Regions from separate parts of the Homo sapiens genome. Here regions 2 and 3 are each linked to region 1. Evidence: promoter capture Hi-C in 16 types of primary human blood cells and fetal thymus (Javierre and others, 2016). All regions are on one chromosome and are shown on one strand. Each heading gives the region's core, a stretch centred on a gene start or on the middle of the fragment in contact. The rest is flanking DNA. Distances are from core to core; before and after follow the strand shown. Region 1 holds the start of CPEB4 (cytoplasmic polyadenylation element binding protein 4). Region 2 holds the start of ERGIC1 (endoplasmic reticulum-golgi intermediate compartment 1). Region 3 holds the start of DUSP1 (dual specificity phosphatase 1).

Region 1 (2,700 bases), core at 179-2,678:
CAGTATTGCTTTGCACTAGCACTCCAAACCCGTAATCCCCCATTTATTATCTTTAGGAGCAGAATCTCACAATAAAAAATGACAACCTGATGTCTCACGCCTTTTTTTTCCTCTACCCCAAATTTAAGTTGTTTGCTTGCTTGCTTGAAATGTCTTATTTATAGCTAGCTCAAAGATCGCAGCTTATCACCTTAAATTGTTCTGATTTGGAATTCTGGTCTCTGAAAGAAAAAACAACTCTTAAAAAAATCTCTTAAAACATTGACTTGGATCCAATTGGGCTTATTTTTAGGAGGGAATAAAAATGAAGAGGGTAAAAATCAAGTCTTTGGTTAGTAAAATAGGCGCTTTCTTTTTCCAAAGGAAAATGTACATGAATGACAAAAACAGAGCTTCTCAAGCATCTATGGATGTAGAAGAATAAGCCTTGCGCGGAGTAAAAATATAGATATATATAATTTAACAATCACATATGGTTTTCCTCAGCAGTTTAGATTCACTCACATAAAAATTAGAATAGGACTAAGAGGGGAATACGTTCTTTTCTTGGCAGCTTGGTTAAAAAAAAATCAGGAATAATTTAAGAACATTATATATTATATATTTATATATATAGATTATATTAGGTTATCTGGGGTGGGAAGTGAATTCCTGGTTTCGGGAGAGGAAATCAGCATTGACTAATGGAAAGATGATTGCAGGGAGGTTTCTGCTGTTCCTGGTCCTGTTTTCTGCTCTTTCGCAGGGTGCAGTTTTGGCCTCTGGGGCTGTTCCTGAGGCTCCGGGTGCAGATCTTGCTGCGGTCGCTGTTCCTGGGCTCCCCGCGGCTTCCTCTCCCCCATGAAAGGGGTTGGAAACACCCGTTTCTCCCTCTTGCGGGGGTCGCGATCAGGAGGGATTAGCGAGACTCGACGAGGGTGAGCGGGCGGCCTGGGGGTGCGGGGACCGAGGGGGCGACCTGGAAGGTCCTGCGGTTTCTGCCTCTTCCCCTCTCTGCGGCTCCGGGGTTTTTTTCCCTCATGGGACCCAGGGGCGGTTTGTTCAGTTCCCTCAGTTCGATTCTCCGCAGAGAGGGAAAAAAGAGGAAAAAAAGGAAAAACCCACTACCGTAGTTATTTTAAAGGAGAAGGGCCTCCCCCCTCGGCTTTCTCTCTCTTTTCCCCCAGAATTTTTTTTTAAACTATAATTTAGAAGGCTTTTGTTTCTCCTCACGGTTGCTGGGCCGTCGCCGCCGTCGCCGCTTTACCCTGGTCCCGCAGTCCCCGCTGTCGTTGTTGAGGACTCCTCCTGGTTCTTCTTTTTCTTTCCTTCTTCCTCCTCTTCCTCCTCTGCTGTCGCCGCTGCTGCCGCCGCCGCCGCCGCCACCGCCTCCCGGTGCCCGGGTCCCGCAGCCGCGGCTGAGTCCTTCTCCTCAGGACCGAGCCGAGTGAAATGACAACCAGCTGGAAAGACCCAGAGACACTTCCGGTTCGAAGAGGGAGGGGTGGGGGTAGCACTCATTCCCCACCTACCTGCCGGAAGACCAATCATCTGTTAGAACTCAGGCGAGGCCACGCCCCCTCGCTTCAGAGCTACTCCCAGGAAGGTCGAAAAGTTACCTCCAGAGACGCCTCTTCCGTCTGCGCCTCGCCTAGTGAGGCCCGGCGCCTGGAACCCGCTTCCCCCACCCAGAGTGAGCGCAGCAGGTCGCCATCTTTTGTGTGGGCAAGGGACTCCTTTGATATTTCTCTTCCCTAACTGGGCTTTGCAGGAGGAGCAATAGGGACGTGTCAAGGAGAACGGATTCCTCGCTCACGAAGGCATACGGTCAAGGTGTTGGAGATCGAAGTGGCGGCCCGTGAAACCGCGGATGAATGAGAAGGGTGCCCACAGTAAAGGTGGTGCTCCAAGCATCACGTGCTCTGGCCCGAGCTCCGCCCCAGAGGGATCTGGAAGGGGAGGCGGGTCTTGCCAGCAGCTGTGCGGTGCCTAGAACTGCGTTTGCCCTTGCCCAGAATGTAGACCTCACGAGGGACTCTCCCTTAACCTTCCATTCGCTCACCCGCACCTCCCACTCTCCCATTCTGCTAGGCTCGCATCTGGTGCAGTCTCCCAGGTGCAGAGATGCAGCTGAGGCGTCTGTGGCTATGCCCCCGTATCATCCCGATCTAGTACACCTTACACGCAATACCAGAGGGAAAATTCCAAAACTAAAATTTTATCTTGACCCTCACATGCTCCGATTTCTTCTATGGTTGCCCATTATTTCGAAGATAAAGGCCAAACTTGTTAGTCTGGTATTCAAGCCTTTCTACCTAATGGGTGGTATATCTTAGTGCCTCTTCCCCCTCCAAACACACTCTCAATGCCTTTTTACATGTCCTTTCCACTCTTCTCCTTTGGTAAATTCCTATTTATTTCTAGGAATCAGTTCAAAAGCCACCAACAGCATCTTCTGAATTCTCTCTTATAAGCGTCCACGGCCCTGTGTACCTCTCGTGCTTGTTTCTCACACTATATTGTGATGGTTTATGTCTTCCAGACCTGTGCTGGACCGTGGGCTCTTTCAGGAGCAGACATTGTAGATAGGAGACATCAGTGAATGAATCCTGAAAACGTGAATGAACAAACCAGCAACAATGAAGTCTTCCCTGAGTGACAGCCCCCCAACCCACTGCCACCCCTTCCACCCGTCACCCACCCCCCACCCCTCACTCCTGT
Region 2 (2,700 bases), core at 135-2,634, 1.1 Mb after region 1:
TACACTGCCTTCACATGCAAGAAGAGGGGAAGAAATACCTCCTGTGGCACAGGCATCTGAATCACTATTTTGTGGATGTGGAAAACCCCTCCTGGAGAACACCCCCCATCCACTAATGCCCTATTTCTGAGCTCTAAATCATGCCAGACTCTGCTAAGGGTGTTTCACGCACTCAGTCGTCACAAGCGGAGACCTTATTTTTAGCCCCAATTTGCAGGTGGTGAAACTGAGGGCGCTCGGAGACTTGCTGAGGTCAGCCAGCCGAGCGGCGACAGGGAGTTCTGAACCCAGAGCCTTTGCCCCTAACTTCTAGAATATACCGAGCTGTTCAGTAGAAAGGGCAGAGCCAGGATTCTAATCCAGCTCCTCCCTGCATTAAAGCCCTGCTCTTTTCCCAGCCAGACACCAAGTGTGGCTGCCTCAGGCCAGGACATCCCCTGGGGCTCCACACCTCAAGGGAACCTCTGGTGGAGATCTCTTCCCCCGCAGGCTTCCAGAATGCCCCATGCAACCTAGACCATGAGGCAGCTGGACCCCACAAAGGACCCATTGTGGTGACTGCAGAAAGCCAAGGCCAGACCCCGGTGGCCCTTCTGCAGAGTCCTGCCCAAGGCGCCTCCTCCCCTTCCCATGGTGCCCCCATACCCAGCGGACAGGGCTGGGGCTGAGGGAGGGAGGGGCGGGGGCAGGCCTCCCGATCTGCCCGGCCTGGGGGAGCCTCAGGCTATAGAAACTTAAAACCCTCCAGCTGCCGGCAGGCTGCATGGGGCCCCAGGCCCCTCCGGACTCATTCCAGGTGCCCTGCCCCACCTGTCAGCTGAGGTGGGGTCCACCAAGGAGGCTCAGTAGAGGGAGGAGAGGGATGCTGGGGTGTTATGGGCTGTTCCCATCTGGGAGGAGGGAGGAAATGTTTCCTAGTGTGGGGGAGGGGAATGCAAGGTATCCGGGCAGGCTGGGGAGGGGGCTCGGCGGAGGGAAGGTGGGTGGATTTGTCTCCCGCTGCACGAGGGGGCCTCCGCGGCTCTGGCTGGCTTCGTGTGCGGCAGGGGGGGGGCTCGCCTGGGGTCCCTAGGGGCCTGCGGAGGCATGCACAGGGCGGGGAGCCGCTTTTGCATGCAGGGCGGGAGGGGTCCGCGGCGTGCCGGGGCGCTCCCTCTGCCCGCTGAGGGAACTCCCGACTGGCCGGGGTCGCCACACTCACCTCCTGAAGTCAAAGGGCATCGTGCCGCCGCCGGGGGTGGGAGCGCTGCAGGCCAGGCGGGCCGCGGCGCCGCGTGGGTCCGAGCCCGCTGCCAACGCCTCCTCCGGCCGCCCCGCCCCCGCCGGCCGCCCCCCTGACACTCGCCACTCGCCACTCGCCACTCGCCTCCCGCTGCCGGGAAGTGACGCTCCGCGCAGCCCATTGGGCGCCGCCCGCCCGGCCGCCCCTTCCGCCACCCGGTTAAAGGGGCCCGCGGGCAGGCAGGGAAGGGGCGGAGAGTCGAGGCTGTCGGAAGGGAAGGGAGTCCCCCAAAGACTCCAGTACTCATTCCTTCAAGCCTCCCACTTAGATTTCCTTCTCCATCTCTTTGGATGCCCTCGGACAAATTCTCTGCTTCTCCGAGCCCAGTTTTTTGCATTTGTAAACAGTTTCACTGAACTGTGATTGAGTTGGGGGCGGGGGGCGGGGTGATACAGACTTTGGCCGTGCACAGCGTCTAGCTCTGAGTGAGGGCCTAATACTGTGGGGGAAGGGAAGAGGTCGGCCATCCTAGGCTGTTAAGGTGGACTCACCTCTGCCCCTGCCGTGTCTCTCTGGGAAAGCCACTGGGCTTCTCAGAGCGCCCCCCCCCCGCCCCGCCCCTTTTGCATATCTGCACAAAGAGGACGATGACACCTACTTGAGGGGGTTTTCCTGGGGATCAGCTGAGAAACAGGAGACTGGCTTAGCACAGTGCCAGGCACCTGAAACTATTGAGGCTGGCAGTGGCTGTCCCTGCTTCCATCTGCCCCTGTCGTTCACTCCAGTGGGCATTCACAGAGCATCTGCTCTGAACCAGGTCCATCGAGAACATGCAGGGTTGTGGCAGAGGCAGATGGGACCTGCACTGTGACTTGGCCAACGTGGACTGTGCCGATTGTCTCCTTCTTAGAGCCTCAGTTTCCTCCTCAGGAATACAGAGCAGCTGCCTCCGTGACTGCTGGATTAGAGGAGATGGTAGTTGAGGTCACACAAGACCTGAGTAGGGGAAACTCACTCTGAACTTCCCCGAGGTTCTGTCACTGGCCCTTTCTCCAAGGTTGTGGTGGGACAGGGCTTCAAAAAACCCAGGGGAGAATGGTGAGGGCTCGGGTTCCAAAAGCAGAGTCAATGGACAGTTTCCCCCTGTGTAAATAGAGGGGAACAGCAGTGCTGGTTCCTCCGGGAGGATTCAGAAGGGACAACACTAGCACGGGGTCTGGGGTAGGGTGACGTGGTGAACCAAAGCCTTCCCCTAGAGCATATGCCGGGACCTGACCTCTGCGTTCCCTTTTCATTCATTCACTCATTCATTCATTCATTCATTCAGTGTCAGTGGTCTGACACTGTTGGGGGAGAAAAGGAAATCTCAGCCTGAACTGGAAACCTAGGGACAGCAGGGAGAGTTAAGGGATCTTGAGCAGCCACTGCTTCCAAACAGCCATTCGTTGGCCCTGTGTGGGAGGAAACATGCAATGATG
Region 3 (2,700 bases), core at 1-2,500, 1.1 Mb after region 1:
CCGTCACTGGGACTCAGGGCACGGAGATCGCTGGGCGGGGCGGGGGTCTTCCCAAGTGTTGCGATCCAGGTCCTGGCAATCCGCCCACAATGGCCCGGGATTGGATTTTGCTTTCGGCCTATAACGGCCGCGACGACAGGGAGCGAGGGTTGTGGCCGGCTTCTGTTCCGGGTTGGAGGCCCCCAGCCCAGCGCTTAGTGGGCGCTCACTGTGTATACTGCCTATTTGTATAATAAAGAAAGGGATGGAGAAGCTCAGTCTGGAGCCAAGGTGACAGAAACGTGTCGGGCGGCCCCTGGGGGGCGCCGTCGAGTCGCGCTGCGGGTCGCCCCTCACCCCTCCAAACGCCAAACCCTGGAATCCACTGCGGGGCCTTGCGACCCCTCACCGGGATTTCAGCCCCCTGACCTGCCTCCCTTGGCTCCAAGTCTTCCGGGGGCCACAAGACTAGGAATAGCATTATTTCCCGGTGGGAGTTTGCTTGCTCACACTTTCATGGCAAATGTAGATATTTTAAAGCCACCTTAAAGAAAAGTCTGGGAAACAGGAAAGCATTGCCCTGAACCTCTCCGCCCCAACTCGCTCGAGTCGGTCTTGGTAGGGACGACTTTTCTATCGGCAGAGTTGTTCATTTTTCTCTAAACTTCATCTTAGGCGCCTATTTGCTGCCCCCACCCCAGTAGTGTGGTTCTGGGCAAGTCAGTCGCTTCGCCTGGGGAACCTCAGTTTCCCCGCCTGTTAGTGATGAGGAAATGAGGAAAAGGGGCACAAGAGTATGCAAAAGCACAGGAAGCCCCTTTCGGTTCAGGTCGGCGGCCGAGGGGCACGGGGAAGGGGACTCGGGGAGGGAGAGAGGGAGGAGCGGCGAGGCCAAGGCAGGTGGCACGTCGCCCGTTCTCCCGGCCGCTCGCATCCCGGAGGTCAGCCTCAGCTGGCAGCGAGCCCTCCTCCTCCCCGCTGGGCCTGGAGCGCGGCGCGGGTCCGGTCCCTGGGGACGCGCCAAGAGCAGGCCGGACAGCAGGGCGGGGGCCGGGCCGCGAGCCAGCGCGCGGCGAGCGGACCCAGCTCCGAGGCTGATGACGTCTCCCCCTCTGGCTCGGCGGCGCCTGGCCTGGCAGGGCGGGTGACGTCACCGCCCCGTCACGTGATCACCATTCAAACAAACACCCCCCCTCCCCCTGCGCGCGGGTCTGGCCCGCCCCGTCCCCCAGAGGCCGCATATAAACGCGCTCCCCGGGCCAGGCTCGCTGCGAAGGACATTTGGGCTGTGTGTGCGACGCGGGTCGGAGGGGCAGTCGGGGGAACCGCGAAGAAGCCGAGGAGCCCGGAGCCCCGCGTGACGCTCCTCTCTCAGTCCAAAAGCGGCTTTTGGTTCGGCGCAGAGAGACCCGGGGGTCTAGCTTTTCCTCGAAAAGCGCCGCCCTGCCCTTGGCCCCGAGAACAGACAAAGAGCACCGCAGGGCCGATCACGCTGGGGGCGCTGAGGCCGGCCATGGTCATGGAAGTGGGCACCCTGGACGCTGGAGGCCTGCGGGCGCTGCTGGGGGAGCGAGCGGCGCAATGCCTGCTGCTGGACTGCCGCTCCTTCTTCGCTTTCAACGCCGGCCACATCGCCGGCTCTGTCAACGTGCGCTTCAGCACCATCGTGCGGCGCCGGGCCAAGGGCGCCATGGGCCTGGAGCACATCGTGCCCAACGCCGAGCTCCGCGGCCGCCTGCTGGCCGGCGCCTACCACGCCGTGGTGTTGCTGGACGAGCGCAGCGCCGCCCTGGACGGCGCCAAGCGCGACGGCACCCTGGCCCTGGCGGCCGGCGCGCTCTGCCGCGAGGCGCGCGCCGCGCAAGTCTTCTTCCTCAAAGGTACGCCCTCGGGGAAGCTCGGGGCGGGCCGCACACCCCTGAGGTTTTGCCCGGTACCCCTGGCTCTCGGCTCCCGGGGGATCGCCCCACCTGCAGCGCGTGGGCGCTGGAGTACATTTATCTCTGGAACTTGTCATTGGCTTTGTTTGGCTCTGGAAACAAAGACTTGCCTGGGCCTTTCCGATGTAAACTTCCAGCCCTTGGTGGGTGGGGGAGTTGTATGAAGGTGCCGTGTCCCGGTGTCACTAATGGGGAAAAAAAATGTCTTTGTATTCCCAGGAGGATACGAAGCGTTTTCGGCTTCCTGCCCGGAGCTGTGCAGCAAACAGTCGACCCCCATGGGGCTCAGCCTTCCCCTGAGTACTAGCGTCCCTGACAGCGCGGAATCTGGGTGCAGTTCCTGCAGTACCCCACTCTACGATCAGGTTAGTAGGTGTCCCTGCCACAGGGAAGAAGTAAGAACTGGCAAAGGCATGGAAGAGTAGTGCCAGGGAGAATATAGAAAGTGACCTGCAGCATTATTTATAACGGAGGGGACACAGGGATATGATTTATTCCACAGTTAAGTGGTCTGACGGAGCCGAGTCTCCAATTGTAGGCTCTACGGAAATGAACTTGCTGGTCCTGCCCAGGCAAATGGGCTTAGTTCCCTATTTATTTATCCTCCAGCAACAGAACTGAGTTCACTCGGTATCTGAAATTGACTTTTCCAGCAGAAAGTTTTTGTGGGTATGGGCACTGGCCTTGGCTTTGAGCAAGCTTGATGAATGTTGGATATTTCTGGATTTCAGGGTGGCCCGGTGGAAATCCTGCCCTTTCTGTACCTGGGCAGTGCGTATCA

What was found. Contacts are between HindIII fragments. The CHiCAGO score rates a contact against its expected background, and 5 or more counts as called.
Region 2: the fragment with the promoter of ERGIC1 here is called in contact with the fragment with the promoter of CPEB4 in region 1 in 1 of 17 cell types (neutrophils); the score reaches 5.8 in neutrophils.
Region 3: a contact is called between the fragment with the promoter of DUSP1 here and the fragment with the promoter of CPEB4 in region 1, in 1 of 17 cell types (activated CD4 T cells). The highest score is 5.6, in activated CD4 T cells.

The regions. Positions count from the first base shown.
Region 1 is chr5:173,887,077-173,889,776 of GRCh38, reverse strand. CPEB4 (cytoplasmic polyadenylation element binding protein 4) reads right to left here and starts at 1,428. Exons shown (of 10, transcript NM_030627.4): 1 at 1-1,428. The coding sequence starts at 43. RefSeq lists an enhancer at 1,682-1,921. The HindIII fragment of the contact is 9,803 bases long and covers 1-2,700 here.
Region 2 is chr5:172,832,935-172,835,634 of GRCh38, reverse strand. ERGIC1 (endoplasmic reticulum-golgi intermediate compartment 1) reads right to left here and starts at 1,384. Exons shown (of 10, transcript NM_001031711.3): 1 at 1,202-1,384. The coding sequence starts at 1,221. RefSeq lists enhancers at 1-151, 1-638 and silencers at 622-701, 712-761, 1,132-1,531. The HindIII fragment of the contact is 12,096 bases long and covers 1-2,700 here.
Region 3 is chr5:172,769,745-172,772,444 of GRCh38, reverse strand. It overlaps DUSP1 (dual specificity phosphatase 1), which reads left to right and starts at 1,250. Exons shown (of 4, transcript NM_004417.4): 1 at 1,250-1,859; 2 at 2,139-2,284; 3 at 2,651-2,700. The coding sequence starts at 1,493. It overlaps LOC105377730 (a long non-coding RNA gene), which reads right to left and starts at 234. Exons shown (of 3, transcript NR_188285.1): 1 at 1-234. RefSeq lists enhancers at 1-202, 1-239, 1-775, 240-1,001, 1,423-1,692 and 1 more and silencers at 803-1,252, 1,793-1,902. The HindIII fragment of the contact is 7,766 bases long and covers 1-2,620 here.